Linked DNA regions of Homo sapiens: region 2 is linked to region 1. The links are contacts of gene promoters, found by promoter capture Hi-C in blood cells and fetal thymus (Javierre and others, 2016). All regions are on one chromosome and are shown on one strand. The core of a region is centred on a gene start or on the middle of the fragment in contact, and the rest is flanking DNA. Distances in the headings are between cores, read along the strand shown. Region 1 holds the start of GSTK1 (glutathione S-transferase kappa 1). Region 2 holds the start of TCAF1 (TRPM8 channel associated factor 1).

The links. The method cuts DNA at HindIII sites, captures the fragments that hold promoters and counts their contacts. A CHiCAGO score of 5 or more calls a contact.
Region 2: a contact is called between the fragment with the promoter of TCAF1 here and the fragment with the promoter of GSTK1 in region 1, in 1 of 17 cell types (neutrophils). The highest score is 5.7, in neutrophils.

The regions. Positions count from the first base shown.
Region 1 is chr7:143,261,214-143,265,513 of GRCh38, forward strand. It overlaps GSTK1 (glutathione S-transferase kappa 1), which reads left to right and starts at 2,228. Exons shown (of 8, transcript NM_015917.3): 1 at 2,228-2,372; 2 at 2,873-2,954; 3 at 3,335-3,463; 4 at 3,779-3,879; 5 at 4,048-4,083. The coding sequence starts at 2,301. All of the region lies in intron 2 of TMEM139-AS1 (TMEM139 antisense RNA 1), which reads right to left. LOC105375546 (a long non-coding RNA gene) reads left to right here. Exons shown (of 3, transcript XR_007060569.1): 3 at 1,935-1,994. RefSeq lists a silencer at 2,046-2,115 and enhancers at 2,143-2,437, 2,256-2,475. The HindIII fragment of the contact is 19,965 bases long and covers 1-4,300 here.
Region 2 is chr7:143,900,119-143,904,418 of GRCh38, forward strand. TCAF1 (TRPM8 channel associated factor 1) reads right to left here and starts at 2,058. Exons shown (of 9, transcript NM_014719.3): 1 at 1,843-2,058. It overlaps LOC105375549 (a long non-coding RNA gene), which reads left to right. Exons shown (of 3, transcript XR_007060574.1): 3 at 1-1,835. RefSeq lists enhancers at 1,026-1,563, 1,239-1,288 and a silencer at 2,079-2,218. The HindIII fragment of the contact is 7,751 bases long and covers 1-4,300 here.

The DNA.
Region 1 (4,300 bases), core at 978-3,477:
TGGGTGGATCACCTGAGGTCAGGAGTTCAAGACCAGGCTGGCCAACATAGTGAAAGCCCATCTCTACCAAAAACACACAAAAAATTAGCTGGGCGTGGTGGTGGGCACCTGTAATCCCAGCTACTTGGGAGGCTGAGGCAGAGAGAATTGCTTGAACCCAGGAGGCAGAGGTTGCAGTGAGCTGCAATTGTGCTACTGCACTCCAGCCTGGGCAACAGAACAAGACTCCATCTCAAAAAAAAAAAAAGTTTAGTTTCAGTGGTTGTTGAACAATTAGTTTACTCTGCAAGTAGGTAATGATAACATCATTTTTCATTCCATTTTGCATGCTCTTCTCCATGTAGGGGTTTACCTCGTATCTCTGTATTCTGATAGCCTGGAGTTGTTTTCCTTATTGATACAAATGAAAAGTGGAATCTTTATATGTTTTCCAATTTATTAAATTAGTAATGTTAAAAATAATTTTAACAAAGTTAAATGGAATTATTTTAAAATTCTGTTTCTTTGCAGTAAATGTAATCCCAATATAAGACAATATGACTCACATATTTGTGAAAACGAATAGGGCCAATCGTTTCCATTATCACCAAAATTATCTATAGTGAGGCCTCTCCATCTTCTACCAGTCCCTCTTTTTTTTCACTCACTCAAAATATATGTATCGATGGTCAAATGTGTCCCAGACATTGTGCAAATCTCTGACAAAGGTAACACAAGAAAATGTGTACTCTGAGAACTTCTTATTCTGCCCCAGTTTAGGAGATTCATGCAACTGCCAAGCAACAATAATAAGAGCTAGCAGTTATTGGAGTACCTCATTCCTCACAACTCGTCATAAGGCAGGTGTTATCATTAGATATTCCCCATGTGTATGCAGGATGAGGAAATAGGTTCAGAGAGGTCAAGTGGCTCACCCAAGGGGCACAGCTAAGTGAAAGGCACTGCAGGCATCTCAAACTACCCCCTTCCCACAAGACTCCACTGCAGAGCAGGACAGTCACCCTGACACCAGCCCAATGGGTTCATCTTGCCCATTACCCAGATGGGGCTAATTTATCAAGACAAGGGAATTGCAATAGAGAAAGAGTTTAATACACATAGAGCCAGCTAAACAGGAGACCAGAGTTTTATTATTACTCAAATTAGCCTCCCAAAATTCGGAGGCAGAGGCTAGGGGACTTTGTGGGTTTTTTTGTTTTTGTTTTTGTTTTTCTTTTGAGAGGGAGTCTTGCTATGTCACCCAGGCTGGAGTGCAGTGGCATGATCTCGGCTCACTGCAACCTCTGCCTCCCGGATTCAAGCAATTCTCCTGACTCAGCCCCCCGAGTAACTGGGATTACAGGCACATGCCACCATGCCCGGCTAATTTTTGCATTTTTAGTAGAGACAGGGTTTCACCATGTGGGCCAGAGTGGTCTTGAACTCCTGACCTCAAGTGATCCACCCACCTCAGCCTCCCAAAGTGCTGGGATTACAGGCGTGAGCCACCATGCCCGCCGGCTAGAGTTTTTTAATGATAGTTTGATGGGCAAGGGGCTAGAGAATGGGTGCTGCTAATTGGTTGGGGATGCAATCACAGGGGTGTGGAAAACCGTCCTCAGTGCACCGAGTTGCATTTGGATGCGGGCCACAGAGGAGTCACTGGTCCAGGTGGAGTCATCCTGTCATTAGAAATGGAAAAGTCTGAGAAGGTATCTTCAAAGGCCAGTCTTAGGTTCTACAAAAGTGGTTATTTACAGGAATAATTGGGGAAGTTGCAGAGCTTGTGACCTCTGGAACAATGTCTGGTAATTGTTAATGCCTACATCTTAGCAGAATTCAGGCCCCTCTCATAATCCTAAACTTGTGGACTTTTATTAGTTTTATAAAACTGGTTTAGTTTGGGGAAGGGCTATTATCATTTAAACTATAAACTAAATTTCTCCCTATATTAGCTCGTCCCATGCTCAGGAATGACCAAGGGCAGTTTGGAGGTTAAAGGCACGATGGAGTTGGTGAGTTCAGATCTGTTTCACCTTCGTAATTTTCTCACTGTTAAAATTTTTGCAAAGGCGATTGCAGCGCCCCTTGTCCACACCTGCGCGCTCCCCAAGGGGTCCCTACCCACCCCGCCCCTGGCTGGGGGCCGTAGGCTGGCCCTGCCCCGCTGCGCCGGAGGTGGACCTCTACCAGGGCAGTTTCTCTCTGAGGCTGCGCGCTAAGGCGGTGGGCGGTCCCAGGCAGGCCCAGAAGCTGGGCAGCCTCTGCCGGGTTCCGGGAAAAGGAGCTCCTGCTGCCACTGCTCTTCCGGAGCCTGCAGCATGGGGCCCCTGCCGCGCACCGTGGAGCTCTTCTATGACGTGCTGTCCCCCTACTCCTGGCTGGGCTTCGAGGTGACGCTGGGAGGGGTCGCCTCGGCAGTGTCTGGGGAGTGAGGGCGGAGGGAAGAGTGAGCGCAGGGCTCCGGGACAGAGGTCTCGTGTAACTCCTGGCGCCGCCCAAGGGGTTAAGGCAAGCAGGGAGAGCTCCGGGGCTGAAGGTCACTTTGTGCTTTTAAACGGAATAGAGTCGCTGGCTCCAACCCGAGCCTTTATATCCCGACTGCAGTTTCCCACGGTGGTGGAAAGAGGGGCGGCTCCAAACATTCAGGGAGAAATGCAGAACACGGCCACCTCTTAGCCCAACGATGGCAGTTTTGGGGAAAACTGGCCACAGGAGCGAAGATCCTGGAATAGATTTCTAGTAGTGAGGAGAGTTTTGCCAATTTCAAACCAAACAATGTAGGGTGTCCGCATAACCCCTGCTCTGCACTTAGCGCCTCCCTTCCCTTTCCCTCGGCTCTTTCACTTTTCCATCTTGCACACTGGCAATCGTTCTTGACCTCTGCCCGCAGATCCTGTGCCGGTATCAGAATATCTGGAACATCAACCTGCAGTTGCGGCCCAGCCTCATAACAGGGATCATGAAAGACAGTGGTAGGAAGGGAGGGTCGGGGCAGGGGTGATCTCAGTGGCCCAAGAGAGCCGACCCCAGCGGGTCCTTATATTGGCACTGGCAGCCAGAAAGCTGCCCTCTGCCCCGTCTCTACTAAAAATACAAAATTAGCCGGGCGTGGTAGTGCATGCCTGTATACCACAGCTACTCGGGAGGCTGAGGCGGGAGAATCGCTTGAACCCAGGAGGCGGAGGTTGCGGTGAGCTGAGATCGCACCATTGCACTCCAGCCTGGGCAACAAGAGCGAAACAACAAGAGAAAAAAAAGGAAGCTGCCCTCTGCCCAAAACCCACGTCGAGGTCCCCAAACCTGGGACCCTTAGGTCTTTTCTCACTTAGCGTGCCCAACCTTCTCCTGGCAGGAAACAAGCCTCCAGGTCTGCTTCCCCGCAAAGGACTATACATGGCAAATGACTTAAAGCTCCTGAGACACCATCTCCAGATTCCCATCCACTTCCCCAAGGATTTCTTGTCTGTGATGCTTGAAAAAGGTGAAGAGAGTGGGATGTAGACAGGGTATCCAGTGAAAAACACAGAAGTCGGAGATTGAGGGATTGATAGGATGGAGGGGCTGCGGGAGACTAAAGCAAGTGAAGCCTGCCTTGGGAAACCTCAGGATCAGCCTTGAGCGAGCTGAAGGTTGCCGGGCATGAAAGGGAAGAAGAGCAGGCAAATAGGTCATGGGAACCTTGGGTGAGAGGCTGAGGGCGGAGGAGCTCTGGGGGATGTCAGAAGCAAGGAAGAGCTAGTCCTCCACCAGGAAAGCAGCAAGAGGAGCCCTGCCTCTGGGTGCCTCTGCCCCACAGGAAGTTTGTCTGCCATGCGTTTCCTCACCGCCGTGAACTTGGAGCATCCAGAGATGCTGGAGAAAGCGTCCCGGGAGCTGTGGATGCGCGTCTGGTCAAGGGTGAGTGTGGGGCTCTGGGAATCCTCTGGGAGGACCTTGGATGACTTTCTGACCTTCCCCAGGCACGTTTTCAGGGTCATGATCCTGCCCCCGCCCGGGGGATCTACTGTCCTCCCAGTCACACCCCTCTCCCCGCACCGCCTTCCTGCTGTCTTCTCTTCTTCCCAGAATGAAGACATCACCGAGCCGCAGAGCATCCTGGCGGTGAGTGTCCTGGCTCCACCCCAACTGCACTCATAGAGAATCTGAGAACAGTTGGCGTTTGGGGGTAAAGAAGACAATAGGTCTCTTATTGCATGGAAAAGGTTATAATTACTGGGGAAGAAAGGATGTCTGTGATTCAGGGCACAAACTACTGAAAAGTTGGAACTAAGGATCCTCAAAAGGATATCTCAAGGTTGAAAGGGGAAGTGCAAAAGGG
Region 2 (4,300 bases), core at 808-3,307, 640 kb after region 1:
ACTCCCAGCTATATACTCTAGGGAAGCTCCCACACAAGTGTACTTGAATATTAGAGGACATGGGCAGGCTTTAAAGTGGCCCCGATAATCCCTGCCTCCAGGTGTTCATGTCCTTGTGTCACCCCCTTCCCTTCAGTGTGAGTTGGGCCTAGGGACTCACTTCTAATGAATATAAAATGGCAAAAATAATGGGATGTCGCTTCTGAGGTTACAGAAAGAATCTGACTTCTGTCTTTCTCTTTTTCTCTGTGGGAGCCTTCTCTCTGGGGGGAGTAAGCTGCCATGTTGCAACCATTCTTTATACAGAGGCCCATGTGGCAAAGAACTGATGTGTACAGCCAGGGTCAGTGAGGCCAATCGGCCTGCCAGCAGTCATGTGAGTAAGCCTGGGAGAGGTCCTCGACCCTACGCCTAGCCTTGAGATGACTGAGGCCCAGTCAATACCTTGATTGTTGATACAGCTTGTGAGAGACCCTGAGTCAGAGACTCCCAGCTAAGCCCCTCCTGGATTCCTGATCACAGAAACTGTAAGATAGGAGGTAACAGGACTTGTTTTGTTTGTTCGCTTTGGTTTGAAGCTGCTAGGTGTTGGGGTAATTTGTTACATAGCTTATAGATAAATCATACACCTCCAAAAGTAGAAACAATCCAATGTCCATCAGCAGTAGAATGGATAAATTATGTACATTTACACCTTAAATGACGAAAACGAAAATGGAAGGAAGCATGAAAGATGAATCTATAAAACTTAAGAATACGTACAGGATAATGTCATTAATATAATGTCATTATAATGAGAAAGCCAATACATATGTTTTAGGAATACACACACAAATATGGTAAAACTAAAAAGAAAAGCAAGGGATTCATTAAATTAAGACAAAAATCACGAAAGATGTCACATCTCAGAGAATGGAGGAGAATGGACCATGGGCATCAGTTGGGACTCATGGGCTTCTAAGGTACTGTGACGCCCTATTTCTTGACCCAAGGAGATGGTCAGGCATTCGTTTCATTATTTTTTAGACCATTCTGAGATATTTCATTTACTTTTTATTCAACATTTTAAAACAAAGTATTGAAACCAATTCATCAACAAATCACTAGTTTGGAGGATGAAAGTGATGGACCGATGGTTGGCTGGTCAGCTAGACAGACACATTCTGTCCTTTACGTCTAGTTCGAGCTGTACTTCTTCTAAATTTCCATGATTATCCAATTGGCAAAGATCTTTTTCTCCTGTACTTAAGGCCTTCTTCCGTTGCAGGTTGGGCCAAACTAGCGGCCAGCTCTCGGCTGTTTACCAGGGAACTGTATCACCCAGCACTTGCTGCTTCAGGCCAAATGCATTCCAGACTAACATTCAGCCTGAATCCCCGCGCCGCTCTCACCGCCACCCCTCCCCAGGTCCCTTCCCCCACCACAAACCCACACTGCGCCCGTGGGCGCCTAGAGCACTGGGGTGGATGAGAACTTCCACCTGGGCTTAACGGAGACAAGCTAGCCTAGAAGAATGCAAGCCCCCAGCTGGCGAGATCAAATCGCCTCGAGGGTTCCTGCTAGCTCAGATCTTAATGGCTCCTTGCGGAGCAAAAAACAAATCCTACGAAAATAGGGGGGGTCATCGCCTCCTGCCCAGCAGAGGGCATAACAATGCGGCGAGAATGAAATAGGCACCGAGCTGCAGAGAAAAATCATCAACGGGGTAGAGACGAAGGAAGGGATCCTCGGTGGAACGGCTCTATCACCTGGGGGCGCGCGCAGAGGCCGCAATCCACGCCCGGCCCTCCCCAGACGCTAAACGTCGCACCCCGCCCACCGCTCCCCGCCCCGGACACTAACCCGGGGCCCAGGCCTCGGTCACCGCGGGCCTCTCCTGGTCCAGAGTCTACGCTGAACCCCACTCACTGTTTGCCCCGCTGTTCCCTGCAGCGCGGGTTCGGGGCAGTAGCAACCTGCTAGGAGCGGGAGGCGGTTGTTCCCAGGAGGAAGCAGCTTCTCCGCCCAGGAGGCAAAGGGCAGCGGGCTCGAAACTACAGGACTTGGAAAGTCTTAGGCGGAGACTGCGGGGGTGGGGGGTGGTGAGGAGGGGCCTTCCAGGGAGCTGATTGGTCGACGCGGACGGGGGCGGGACTTGGCCGGCGCCGTCCCTCCCCTAGACCTCAGAGGCCCTGCCCGCAGATGTGGCGCCAAATCCCGGATGCAGGCCTAGGCGCCAGCCCAGGAATATAGGGAGCAAATTGTTAAGAACAAAACAAAACAAAACAAAAGTGAGAATACTTCTGAACAAGTGACGGCCTTGATAAATAGCGAGAGATGTTTATATAAAATAATACAGGACTATTTTTAAGGACGAGTGAAATCTATCGGTTCTAGCTATAGTTTTTAATTAAAAAAGCAAGTTGTATTAAAATGGAGAGTAGGATCTCTCTTTCCCCCTCCCCTCCCCTCCCCTCCCCTCCCCTCCCCTCCCCTCCCCTCCAGGGGGAGGGTCTGCTTCTGCCACCCAGGCTGGAGTGCAGTGGTGCCATCACAGCTCACTGCAGCTTCAACCTCCCAGGCTCAAGCGATCCTTCCACCTCAGAGGCTGGGACCACAAGTGCGCCGCCACCACGCCCAGCTAACTTTTTGATTTTTTGTTAGAGACAGGGTTTTACTTTGTTGCCCAGGCTGGTCTCGAACGCCAGGGCTCAAGTGATCCTCCCGCCTCGGCCTCCCAAAGTGCTGGGATCACAGGCCTGAGCCACTGCATCAGCTTTAGCATTACATTCGTGTATGAAGAAGACATGCTGCATGTGCTTCTATAAGAGGCGGGGCTAACGGTGGAGAAATTGTCTATTGATTCTTACCTTCACAACCACTGAATTGTTTTTTTTTAAACCAATACATTGTTTTTATAAGTTTAATAAAACAGTAAGGCGTTGAGAATGTTACTAACCAATCAACAGATGACAGATATTGGGCATGAGGGAGGAAAGAAAGAAAGGAGTAGCAGGGAAAAAGCCTGGACTTTGAAGCCACCACATCCTCTGCTTACAAGTTGGGCAGTGTATTCATTGCTAAGGCTGCTGTGATAAATTTTCACACATTTAGTGGCTTAAAACAACACAGATTTACTACTATCTTCCAGGACTGTAGGTCCTGGAAGTCCAGCACAGGTCTCACTGGGCTATCATCCAGGTGTAGGCAGGGATGTGTTTCTCTTTGCAGGATCTAGGGACAAATCTATTTTCCTTGCTTTTTCCAGCTTCCAGAGGCTCCCGCATTCCCTGGCTTGCAGCCCTTTCCTTCATCTTCAAAGTCAGCAATCTCATGGCTCCAGCCTCTGCTTCTGTGTCACATCTCCTTCTTTGAGTCTCCTGCTTCCTTCTTTCACTTAGAAGGACCTTGTGATTACATTGTGCCTATCCAGATAATCTAGATAATTTCCCATCTCAAGGTCAGCTAATTAGCAGCCTTCATTCTGTCTGCAACCTTAATTCTCCCTTGCCATGTAGCATTGCGTATCACAAATTCTGGGAATTAGGATCTGGACATCTGTATTAATCCATTTTCACACTGCAGATAAAGACATTCCCCAGACTGGGCAATTTACAAAAGAAAGAGGTTTAATTGGACTCACAGTTTCACGTGGTTGGGGAGGCCTCACAATCATGGCAGAAGGCAAGGAGAAGCAAGTCACATCTTATGTGGATGGCGGCAGGCAAAGAGACAGCTTGTTCAGGGAAACTGCCGTTTTTAAAACCATCGGATCTCCTGCGACCTCTCCACTATCATGAGAACGGTTGGGGAAAGACCCACCCCCATGATTCAATCATCTCCCACCAGATCCCTCCCATAACACGTGGGAATTATGGGAGCTGCAAGATGAGATTTGGGTGGGGGCACATAGCCAAACCATATCAACATCTTTAGGGAGCTATTTTTCTGCCTATCACAGAGGGCTTGTTAACTTCTATCTTAGTGTTTTCATCTGTAACATTGGGGATAATAATTGTCTCTACTTCATGGAATTTTTATGAAGATTAAATGACTTAATACAGATAAAGCTCTTAAAGCAGTGTCTGGCACATGGAAAACCCTATGTGAATGTTCACCATTACCAGAGAATGGACAGATCCTTCCAGACTTCTTCCATGATTTCCTTGGCCCTTGTCTCCTTTGCTCTTCAAATCTCCAAGTTGTGTGTTCTCTCCTCATTTCCCTGCAAATCTAGTCTCCCCTCAAAACTACATAGGCCTAGCCTGAGATTGGAGGGCAGACATGGATGGGACTTTACTTCTAAGAGATTTCTAGAAGT